4 separate regions of the Homo sapiens genome follow, and all the other regions are linked to region 1. The links are contacts of gene promoters, found by promoter capture Hi-C in human tissues and cell types (Jung and others, 2019). All regions are on one chromosome and are shown on one strand. The core of a region is centred on a gene start or on the middle of the fragment in contact, and the rest is flanking DNA. Distances in the headings are between cores, read along the strand shown.

Region 1 (3,082 bases), core at 32-2,531:
TCCTTATTTCCACAGTCGTAATTGAGAATCAAAGTAGAAGTATTGACCCTCTAAATGATTTTCTCTTTTAAATTAAGAAACAAATGAATGAAATGTAGGTAAGGCATTGAACATACAACAGTTTAAAAGTTTTTTGCTTCTCACCTGCATTTAAATTACCACATGAAATTGTATTTTTCTTGGGAGAACAGTTCTAAGATTTAAAAGTAATATAATTCTAAAATATTTAGTGGATTCTGGTTCTTTCGCAAATAAATATAGTTGAAACAACTTATTGTTCAGGTCATCAGAGTAATTCTCAGGTTTGTGTATGTGCAAATTGATATTCTCTTCCGTATATCTCCCTACAAAACATGGTAAGGATGTCTGAACATAATTTTTTAATCTATCACAATCCTATACAACCTTTAGAAAAAAGCTCAGCATAATCCAAGATACAGTTTTTCTCAGTCTCACGAACTTTGTAGAACTCCACTTATAGAGCATCCCTACTGAATTTTAACAAGTTATTGCAATGCCAGATGCCCAATTATTTAGTCTCGGAAACTCATTGCTCAAACATAAGGCATACATTCAGTACCTGAGAACGGCATCCTATTTTCCAAACATTTAGTTTCTTTTGTAGAAACATCCTCACTTTATCCTGGCATTTATTGCCTTACAATTTGCAATTTGCGTGTAGGAATTGCTTACTCTTATTTTGGGTGGCATTAGGAGATATACAAATAGGTTATATTTACTCTTGTTTCAACTTTTTGCCATAAAATCCCAGCAGGAAATAAAGTCGTGTTTTGTTTCCTTTATTTAAAAAAGCTTCATCTTACAGTTTTTACATTCTGGCAACATGGCAAGAAAGGATGGCTTTGCAGAACAGAGTGTGTCAAAAATCCTAAGTGGCTGGGAGATGAAGTGCACAATCACAGAACGCAGTCACTGGCAAAGGAATGTCAGCCACTTACCAATAAGATGCCAGACTCCACTGTCCTTCCTCTGTGACTCTCAATTCCTGTCTCCCATCCTCCTGCCCATCAGCACAGTTCAGAGAGAGCGGTTCCTCGGGTCCTTTGCAGCCTGTGGCAGAGGCGAATTGCGGAGTTCTTAATCATTCAGAGGGAATCCTCCAGCTTGCCCTGCCTCTCGCAGCAGACGGGACCCAGGTAACGCATCCTCTCCGCCCCGAGCTTTAATGGCACTTTGGCTGCCGCCTTCTCGCAGTTCCGCTCCCCCACGCCGTAGTTGGTTATATTGGGAAGTAGGTGCGGCGCCTCCTGCGGCTGGTGTGTTTGGGGCTCGCGTGTTTTCCTCCAATGCGTCCGCGCGCCCTGCGCCCCGCGCCTCTGACTGGCTGTGTCCTCCCGGGGCGGCCCCTCGCCCCTCCCCGGCCGCCCGCGCTGTCACCGGCGCCCGCGTCCAGCGCCTCACTGCCTCTTGCTGCAAAGGTTCATTGAGCATGTCCCTGGGCTTAACGAACTGTGCGCCTCCCGGAGGGTGCTCTGTGTTTCTCCACTCGTCTCACTAGTCAACCGGCATTTTCCTTCCCTGCTAAGTACAGAGGACCTGCCCCCCTTCCCCGAGCGTTTCTGCTCTGCAACCCCTCCGTATTTAACATTCATAGATTACAAAGCAAACGTGCTGGCTGGAGTCGGCACGGGAGATCCAGGCGAGAGTCCCTTCCTCCGCTCCTGTCTTCACTCTGATTCCTGTAGTCCCCGGCTCACACCTCTGACAGCAGCAGCACAGACTGACGCGTTCACTTAGGTCGGTTTGAGAGTGGACTTTTTCACTTTGCAGAATTTTCTTAAGTCCTGAATGGGAAGCACTTCTCTTTTGTTTCTGCACTTACGCGTTTCATCTAAGGACTATCAGGCTCTGCCTGTTTATATTTCTCTTTGATTTGGGGTGTTGACTCAGTTCTAAAAAAAAGCGAAGGAATGGTCTCAGCAACCTTTTTTTCGGAATTTTTATATTACAATGGCTGTAATTGGAAAAATAACACAGGTAGTAAATCCACAGTGTGGCAGCTTTAGTGCCATTGTTCTGCCAGTCCTCCTCTCTACTTTTTTTTTTTTTTTCCTCTCAGTCTTTGAGTCGTTTTCCAATTCCCACGATTGGGCTGATGGTAATTGGGTATTTGTTAAATAAATTATATAACATTTCCTTTGCAATATATTTCCATAGAGAATGTGGTTTGCACCTGTATTTAATGGAAAGGAAATCCCACGTACTGCTTTCTATCTCTGTGTCTGTATAAGAAACTGCATGGGAGTCTAGGGTCGCACCCCGTGTCCGCTGGTGTCCGTTTTTCATGTGTGTTTGAGAGCAGCCTGACCCTGGACTGACGCTGATTCTTCTGCTCACTGAATCCCCCGATGGGGTCTGACTGGCTCTAATTGGCAAGGAGAGTACAGTGCCAGGCAGCCTGTAGCTGGAAGCCGTCTACCACTAGCCCTGTGTTCTTTCTCTTGCAGTTTTTCTGGTAATTAAAATTAGTCTTTTCCTGTTTCTTGGCTGCTTCTCATTCATCCAATGATGTACAAACACCCAGTCTCTGCTTTTAATCGCTATCCTCAGGATCTAGGCTGATTGCTTGTTCTGTAGCAAAGACAAATTTGTGTGCATTTAATACTTCTCCACTCTTCCATACTTTTTATATTCGTGTTCCTGCTTTCCAGTAACTAGGTTATCTTCTTTATGTGTTAACTGAGGGATCGTTGTGGAGATTCCCCTTCTGTGGCTTTTTCTCTGCCCCACTGGCTCTTCTCCTCTGTCAGGCTGTCGGTTCACAGAGAGAACTACCAGGACTTTTATAACCACATTAAATACATCACAAAATAAATTCAAAGTGTAGGAGCTCTAACGCATTCTTTTTATTGTTCGATGAGGTTTTTGCCTTTAAAAGTGTATAATTGAGCACATGCAGCCTGAAAGAGGGATCGGGAGTGTAGAAAGCTTTCTGAAAGTTCTCTTCCCTTCTTAGAACACCATTCTATATTACCCATGATCCGATAATTTGGGCATTTTGAGTCATTATGTCACATAATTTCTTTCAACTAGCTTTGCCCTAGAAAGGATGTAAGTTGGC
Region 2 (3,167 bases), core at 352-2,851, 670 kb before region 1:
ATCTCCTTCATCAATAGGGAATGTATCATATTCATTTACCTACCTTTGGAACCTGATTCAATGAATACTTGTTGAGTTAAGCTGAACTTTCATGTTGTCAATTTTTATCCATTCTAAAAACATACACGTCACATTATTATAAATCAAAGAAACAATCTCGTCTGTCAAAATCCCACTGACATATTGGTATTTCTATTTCAGAAATAAAATTTGTTTTTCTTGTCAACTACTCAATTTGGGTATTATGTTTGCAGAGACTCCATGTCTCTCACTATCCTCTATTGTCCCAGCTCTACTGTCCATTACTCTATCCACCCTTGAAGACCCCATGTTTCACGGTCCACTGGGCCTGTGTGCCCTCTGCTTGTCATGCCTCATTTCATAACCTTTACCTCATCAGCTTCTCATCCTTCAACCCCTCAATTCAAATACCTCCTCCTTTAAAACCCTTACAATCATCACAGGTTGTAACTTCTTTTGTACTATGTATCATAATTTCACATTTATTTCTATAATTGTTTGTTTTAAAAACAAACTCTAAGCTCCATACAGAAAGGAATTTTTTAATTGGAATAATTTAGCTATAATTCCATTGTAGTAATATTATTTAAAGACTATTATTTCCTCTCTGATGCCAAAAATGAGCCTTAAATATATTTGTATTTTCTGTGCTGTGCACACAGGTACTGAAAACACACATGTACTCAGTTTTTAATGTTTTTCTTTGAAGACTACATTACTTTCAAAAATAGCTAGAAGTACATATTTACATCTTATTGCAGAAATGTTTCAACTGCTTGCTTATGTAATTTTTACAGCTTGAAAATTTTTTCTTCAAATTTTTATATGTACTTCCTGTTTTAGATTAACCTATTTAAATATTGCTTTCATTCTTCCACGCCCAATCACCAACTCTGTGAAGCTGTCTTGATTCCACAATCAGGATTTATTGGCTGTAACCCTTTCTCCCAGCTATTATAATTACAAACTTAAGTGTCCCACAAATGTGTACTATTCTAATGATATCAATAAATTTTTTGGAATAAAAATGAGTTTAGGGTATACTATAGTCAATCAAAATTGGTGTCATATCAGATTAAAGGATTCTCCTTTACTATAGGAACACTTAAAATACGCATTTGTTTTGTGAATTATGAAAAAAATGTTTTGCAAAATTATTTGACTATAAAAACATTTCACTGATGGAATAAAAGAAAAAATATTGAGGGATGCCAGAGAGAAAGAGGTCAGGTCATGAAAAAAGGGAAGCCCAACAGATTAACAGTGGACCTCTCAGTGGAAACCTTACAAACCAGAAGAGATTGAGGGCAAATATTCAATATTATTAAAGAAAAGAAATTTCAACCCTGAATATCATATCTTGCAAAACCAAGCTTTGTAAGTGAAGGAGAAATAAAGTCCTTTTTCACAAATGCTGCGGGAAACTGTCACCACCAGACCGGTGTTACAAGTGCTCCTAAGGAAGCACTAAACACGGAAAAGAAAAACCATTACCAGCCACTACAAAAACACACTGAAATACATAGAACAGTGACACTATGAAGCAACTACATAAACAAGTCTGTAAACTAGCCAGCTAGCATCATGATGACAGAATCAAATCCACACATAACAATAACCTTGAATGTAAATGGGCTAAATGCCCCAATTAAAAGACACAGAGTGGCACGTTGGATAAAGAACCACGAACCATTCATATGCTGTCTTCAAGAGACCTATCTCACATGCAAAGACACACATAGGCCGAAAATAAAGAGAAAGAGGAAAATTTACCAAGCAAATGGAAAACCTAAAAAAGCAGGGGTTGCAATTCTAGTTTCTGACAATACAGACACTAAACCAAGAAAGATCAGAAAAGACAAAGAAGGGCATTACAAATGGTAAAGGGTTCAATTCAACAAGAACTAACTATCCTAAATATATATGCACCCAATACAGGAGCACCCAGATTCATAAAGCAAATTATTAGAGACCTTCAAAGAGACTTAGACTCCCACACAATAATAGTGGGAGACTAACACACCACTGCCAATATCAGACAGATCATCGAGACAGAAAATTTACAAAACTATTCAGGACCTGAACTCAGCTCTGGATCAAGTGGATCCGACAGATATCTACAAACTCTGCACCCAAGAACAGAATATACATTCTTCTCATCACCACATGGCACTTACTAAAAAAACTGTTCACATATTCAGAAGTAAAAGACTCCTCAGAAAATGCAAAAGAACTGAAATCATAACAAACAGTTGCTTAGACCACAGTGCAATCAAATTAGAACTCAAGATTAAGAAATTCACTCAAAATTATACAACTACATGAAAATCAAACAACCTGCTCCTGAATGACTTTTGGGTAAATAACAATATTAAGGCACAAATCAGGAAGTTATTTGAAAATAATAAAAAACAAAGATACAATGCATCAGAAACTCTGGGACACAGCTACCACAGTGTTAAGAGGGAAATTTACTGCAATAAAAGCCCACATTAAAAAGCTAGAAAGATCTCAAGTTAACAACCTAACATCACAACTAAACAAACTAGAGAACCAAGAGCAAAGAAACCCCAAAGCTAGCAGAAGACAAGAAATAAAGATCAGAGCTGAGTTAAAGAAGACAGAGACATAAACACTCTTCAAAAAAACCAACAAATCCAGGTGCTGGTTTTTTTTTTGAAAAAATTAAGATAGACTGCAAGCTAGACTAATAAAGAAGAAGAGAAGATTCATATAAACACAATCAGAAACAATAATGGCCATATTACTACTGACCTCACAGAAATACCAAAAGTCATCAGAGACTATTATAAACACTTTTATGTAAGTAACAAGAAAATCTAGAAGAAAAGAATAAATTACTAGATACATACACCCTCCCAAGACTGGACAAGAAAGAAACTAAATCCCTGAGTAGACCAAAATGAGTTCTGAAATTAAGGTGGTAATAAATTGCCTACCAACCAAAAAAATCCCAAGACCAGACAGGCTGAGAGCTGAATTGTACCAGATGTACAAAAAAGAGTTGTTATCATTTCTACTGAAACTATTCCAAAAAAATTGAGAAGGAAGGAATCCTCCCTAACTCGTTCTATGAGGCCATCATCATCCTAATATCCAAACCTGGCAGAGACATAAAAGAATAA
Region 3 (3,084 bases), core at 177-2,676, 650 kb before region 1:
GTATCAATTATTGTTGTGTAACATCAGAAAACATACTTTTATCTCACAAAAATCTTATTTTGCTGAGATTTAGAACGTTTTTATTTTAAAAATAGTTATTGAGTAGGAGATAGAAATATAACAACATTTTTAGCTTGATAATGAGTTTGAGTTTCTAAAAGTGTAGTCAAACATGTCATATACATATTTTAATAACCTAGCAACACCCTTGCATGTTAGGGGAAAGCTTTAAGCAGTGTGATTAGCATACAAGAAGATCCGAGGGCCTTAAGATTTTATATACTGCAGAATTCCTTAATTTATCACACTTTTATTTCAGTAATAAATTTTCCTTTGTAATGATTTGTGTTTCATACTTTGTTGTATAGATTTATTTTTCCACAGTGGCAAGTTAAAGAACTTACTAATTTTTTTTTAATTATACTTTAAGTTCTAGGGTATATGGGCACAACGTGCAGGTTTGTTACATATGTTTTTCTTAAGTTCTTTTTTCTTAACGACTACCAAATTATGAAACGAAAATCCATTGTTTCTGCAAAGTAATGCAGATTCAAAGTCTGCAGTATATAAAATTTTATAGGCAGAAGCCCTTGAAATTTTATTGCAGCAGGCTTTTCACATGTGCCAGAACACCATGCAGTGACTGCAGAGGCCTGGTGAGGGGCCTATGAGAAAGAAATGTATTTCTTGGAAAAATCCCATAATGTGACAAAAAGCATGTAGTCTATTTATTTCTGTGTTAGTTTTAGCTTTTTATCACCAGGTGGCTTCTGAATTTTTACCTTCTCTATTGCTCCACTGTGATACTTAATGTTTTCGTTTTTATGTTGTAGTCTATGGTATTGATGTAATTAACAATAACTAGCCAATTAATTCAACAATCATATATTAAATCTTTAAGATATTCTGAGCACCAGTGGTGCAGGGCTGAGTAAAACAGAGTAATAAGAACTCATGGTCTAGCATGAAAATTATGTAATAAAATCAATAATTATAAATCACAATATGAATAGCAAGTAATAATTAACTATTTATTACATGTTGGACACTTCATAGTTTTACATATTATCCCATTCGAAAATTACAACATCGCTGGAAGGCAGAAATGAGACAAGAGTGGCATCTACAAACACTCTCAGAGTTCTGAGATGATGGTAGTGAAAATCATAATATCTATAGAGAATTTTGTATTTTTCAAAGTATTTTCTCACATATTATCTAATATTACACAGCTCTAGAGAGTAACAAGTCAGATACAATTGTTTCCTTTTTGCAAGGAAATGAAATGATATACTAAGGTAACACAACTACTTGTTGACAGAGTCACAATTTAGTACCCATATAACAACTGCAGGGGCTATGTGCCTTCTCTCGTTTTCCTCCCATTAATATAAAACACTTGAATTTTAAAGAATTTCCATTTAGATTTATCTGTTTCTATTTTAATTTTTTATTTGAGACAGAGTTTTGCTCTGTCGACAGGCTGGAGGGCAGTGGGGCACAATCTCAGCTCACTGCAACCTCCACCTCCCAGGTTAAAGCAACTCTCCTACCTCAGCCTCCCAAGTGGCTGGGATTACAGGTGCCCACCACCATGCCCAGCTAATATCTTTTATATTTTAGCAGAAACAGGGTTTCACCATGTTGCCCAGGCTGGTCTCGAACTGCCGAGCTCAGGCAATCTGCCCTCCTCGGCCTCCCAAAGTGCTAGGATTACAGGTGTGAGCCACCGCACCCAGCCTGCATTTTTTTACTCTTTTACCAAAATCTATCTATAACCTTAGGATAACACTGGGCCCCTCCCACAGATGACTTCTTTAGTGCTGGGATTTAAAAATTCTCAGAAATCTACAAAAATCCATTCCCTCACCCAGTACTGATGGGCGAGATTTCAACTTGGAGTTATGGGTTTACTCTCTATTAAAGTGACTATCCTACTAGATTGTACTCATTTAGCACTAGTTAGTCAATAATTATTCAGAGAAATTTAGGACATGAAGCAATGTTTACTCCAACAATTAGTTAGTAGGATGAACAATAGAGTGATTTGCTCTGAGCAAAGGACACTGAAGAGGCATCCCTAGTGTCAGCCTGAAACAAAACAAAACAAAACAAAACAAAACAAAACCAGAAAAATGCCTCCTAATATAATGAATTTATTTGGGAATAATCAAGAAGGATCATAATCCAGTATGCACATCCATGGCAAGCCACAGATCTACCCAAAGATGGAAGGGTAAGAGAAAGCTCAGAGCAAGGGCAAAAAGGGGAAGTTTATATAAGCTTCTTGGAAACAGAATTCATTGGTTTCAGAGGTTCAAAGCTAAGGTTGCTGTCAATTCACTGGAGAAGATGGTGTTATTAGGCAAGTGTTCTTTAGAAAGCATCTTATCTGAATTGCTGCAGTCCTAAAGAAGGGATTTTTTGTGGGGTTATTTTAGAAAAGCCTCGAGACAATCCTTGTCTCAGACATGTAAGCATGAGTTCCTCTACTTTGTGCTTTTTCAGCTGCAATTCGTTTGGGTCTGACAAGAGTGATTGCATCCTGGTATTTGCAGCTTTCACAAAGGCAACCAGAGGTTCTGTGTGAAGAGTTAGTAGATCTTGGGAGCAGGGCAAACATGGGGAGTGACAAGCAACCAACAAAATAAAAAACAAACAGAAGAAATGCCCACATAGATCTAACTAAAGCAAAGAGCTTCTTCAAAGCAAAAGAAACTATCAACAGAGTGAACAGGCAACCTACATAACGGGAGAAAAATTTTGCAAACTTCTCATCTGACAAAGGTCTAAAATCGAGCATCTATAAGGAACCTAAACATGTTTACAAGAAAAAAAAACCATCAAAAGGTGGGCCAAGGGCTTAAACAATTGCTTCTCAAAAGAAGGCATATATGCAGCCAGCAATCACAGGAAAAAAATGCTCAATATCACTGATGATTAGAGAAATGCAAATCAAAACCACAATGAGATGCCATCTCACATCAGTTAGAATGGCTATGCTTAAGAAGTCAAAAAATAACAGATGCTGACAAAGTTGTGGAGAAAAAGGAATGCTTGTACACTGTTGGTGTGAGTGTAAAT
Region 4 (2,995 bases), core at 6-2,505, 940 kb after region 1:
AAAATGAAGCAGTCAGCCACAAAAAGGGGGGCTACATGACTCATGCAAGTCCAAAACCCAGCAGAGCAGTCATGCAATCTTAAAGCTCGAAAATAATCTTATTTGATTCCATATCTCACAACTAGAGCACACTGATGCAAAGGGTTGGCTCCCAAGGCCTTGGGCAGCTGTGCCTTTATGGCTTCTCTCAAGGGCTGGCATTGAGTGCTTACAGCTTTTCCAAGTACACAGTGCAAGCGTGTTGGTGGACTTACAATTCCAGGGTGTGGAGGATGGTGGCCCTCTTCTCACACCTCCATCACGCAGTGCTCCAGTTGGGACTCTGTGTGGGGATTCCAACCCCACATTTCCCCTCCACACTTCCCTAGTTGAGGTTCTCCATGAGGGCTCTGTGCTGTATCAGGCTTCTGCCTGAACATCCAAGCTTTTCCATACATCCTCTGAAATCTAGGTGGAGGCTCCCTAACCTCAACTCTTACACTCTGTGTACCCACAAACTTAACACCATGTGGAAGCCACCAAGGCTTACAGCTTGTACCCTCTGAAGCAGTGGCCCAAGCAGTACACGGGTCCCTTTGAACCATGGCTAGAACTGGAGTGATTGGGATGTGAGAATCAGCATACCAAGGCTGCACAGGGCTGTGGGGTCATCGTCCTGGCCCCCAAAACCATTCTTTCCTCCTATGTCTCCAGGCCTGTGATGGGAAGGGCTGCCTCAGAAGTCTCTGAAATGCCCTCCAGGCCTCTTCCTTATTGTCTTGCCTATCAGCACTTGCTTTCCTTTTAGTTATGCAAATTTCTGCAGCTGACTTGAATTGCTCCTGGAAAATGGGCTTTTATTTTCTATCACAGTGTTGGACTGCAAATTTTTCAAACTTTTACTCTCTGCTTTCCTTTTAAATATAAGTTCCAGTTTCAGGTCATTTCTTTGCTAATGCATATAAGATAAGCTTTTAGAAGCAGTTGGTCCACATACTGAATGCTGTGCTGCTTAGATATTTCTTCCATCAGATGCCCTAATTCATCACTCTCAAGTTTAAAGTTCCATAGGTCCCTAGAGTAGAGGCACAATGCTGCCAACCTCTTTGCTAACACATAACAAAAGTGACCTTCACTCCAGTTCCCAACAAATTCTTCATCTCCATCAGAGACGTCCTCAGGCTGAACTTCACTGTCAAAAACACTACCAGCATTTTGGTCACAACAATTTAACAGATCTCAAGGAAGTTCCAAACTTTCTCTCATTTTCCTGTCTTCTTCTGAGCCCTCCATACTCTTCAAACTTCTGCTCATTACCCAGTTCCAAAGTTGCTTCCATATTTTCAAGTATCTTTATAGGAATGCTCTACTTCTTGGTACCAATTTTCTGTATTAGTCAGTTCTTGCATTGCTATAAAGAACTACCTAAGACTGGGTAATTTATAAGGAAAAGAGGTTTAATTGGCTCACAGTTCCGCAGACTCTACAGAAAGCATGGCAGCATGTGCTTGGCTTTGGGAGAGGCCTTAGGAAACTTACAATCTTGGAAAAAGTTGAAAGAGAGGCAGGCACATCTTACATGGCCAGAGCAGGAGGAAGGAGCAGGGAGAGGTGCCACACATTTTTAAACAACCAGATCTCACAAGAACTCCAACACAAGAACAGTACTAGGGGGATGGTGTTAAACTATTAGAAACTTTCCCATGATTCAATCACCTCCCACCAGGCCTCACCTCCAGCACTGGGGATTACATTTCAGCAGGAGATTTGGGTGGGGACACAGATCCAAACCATATCAGATACTAAACTATTTTAAAATAATATCATTTGATTTTAAAATGTGTTTCTATTTTATGGGTCTAGAAAGCCACAGGAAAAAAAGGAATGTGAAACTCAAGAGATATTAGTATGACATATCATAAAGCATATCTGGAAATGAAACAGGATCTTCTTGAATGGGCTAATGGACCATACAGTGCAGCTTCATGTCTCTGGCACTGTCCAGTGTGAAAAAGAACAAGGCAATATAAAAAGTAAAGCAATTTTTAAAATAAAAACTATATCAAGGTTTTTGTTGTCATTTTTTTTTTGTAGCATGATTGTACTTAGTACTTAGCCAATTGATCTAGATTGGTGAAGGCACTATATAAATAGCAATCACTTTTGTAAATTACTGATACCTTATAGTCCACTTTTAGTTCTCACAATGATCCTATAATTTTGGTGTTTTTAACTCAAATTTGCAAACTAGAAACAGAAGCTGAAAGTAATTAAGCAACTAATTTAGTCTTTTATTTTTATTTTTTTACTTTTCATTTTTTTGAAACAGGGGCTTTCTCTCCCTGTCACTCAGGCTGGAGTGCAGGAGTACAATAATGGCTCTGAAGCCCTGGTCTCATGGTCTCAAGGTCTCTTCCTATCTCAGCCTCCCAAGTGGCTGGGACTATGGGCACACACCACCATGCTTGGCTTATTTTTTAATTTTTTTGTAGAGACAGAGTCTCACTATGGTTTTCCCAGACTGGTCTCAAATTGCTGGGCTCCAGCCATCCTCCCATCTTTCCCTAGCAAAGTGCTGGGATTGCAGGCATAAGCCACTGAGCCCAGCCCTAAACCAGTCTTTTAAATGCATGAATAACTATTCATATTATATCATGTCTGATTTTTAAACTAATTATTTATAGTAACACAGATACTTCTAAATATTATAGTCAATTCTATAAATTAAAATAGTATTCTCTTTACAGATTGTAAGCACTCATAGCTTTTATACATTTATTTATCTAATTTTCACAAATGATCCCTTTAATAAGCAATCTACAAATTAGGAAATACGTGTTAAATTTATTTCAAAGTATGATTCTTAAATCTTATCTTTTAATAAAATGAATATACCCCTCTGACCTTCGTAGATATGATATCTGTTGTCTCTAGGTTTTAGTTCCTAGTTTCTAAAGTAAGAAAATATATTAATCAATAGGCCATAAAAGCAATTCCTCATCTTAGACTTTTAGTC

What was found. Contacts are between HindIII fragments. The study calls those that stand out against the background at their distance.
Region 2: a contact is called between a fragment that was not itself captured here and the fragment with the promoter of CNTN5 in region 1, in 1 of the 25 tissues and cell types used here (mesendoderm cells).
Region 3: a fragment that was not itself captured here is called in contact with the fragment with the promoter of CNTN5 in region 1 in 1 of the 25 tissues and cell types used here (H1 embryonic stem cells).
Region 4: a fragment that was not itself captured here is called in contact with the fragment with the promoter of CNTN5 in region 1 in 1 of the 25 tissues and cell types used here (hippocampus).

Annotation. Positions count from the first base shown.
Region 1 is chr11:99,019,148-99,022,229 of GRCh38, reverse strand. It overlaps CNTN5 (contactin 5), which reads right to left and starts at 1,281. Exons shown (of 25, transcript NM_014361.4): 1 at 960-1,281. The HindIII fragment of the contact is 4,883 bases long and covers 1-3,082 here.
Region 2 is chr11:99,690,720-99,693,886 of GRCh38, reverse strand. All of the region lies in intron 3 of CNTN5 (contactin 5), which reads right to left. Among named protein-coding and RNA genes, the nearest start is that of CNTN5, 670 kb to the right of the region's middle. The HindIII fragment of the contact is 5,448 bases long and covers 1-3,167 here.
Region 3 is chr11:99,674,058-99,677,141 of GRCh38, reverse strand. The region is part of intron 3 of CNTN5 (contactin 5); the gene reads right to left. Among named protein-coding and RNA genes, the nearest start is that of CNTN5, 650 kb to the right of the region's middle. The HindIII fragment of the contact is 3,356 bases long and covers 1-3,084 here.
Region 4 is chr11:98,078,612-98,081,606 of GRCh38, reverse strand. No RefSeq gene overlaps it. Among named protein-coding and RNA genes, the nearest start is that of LINC02713, 120 kb to the right of the region's middle. RefSeq lists an enhancer at 496-1,065. The HindIII fragment of the contact is 3,488 bases long and covers 1-2,995 here.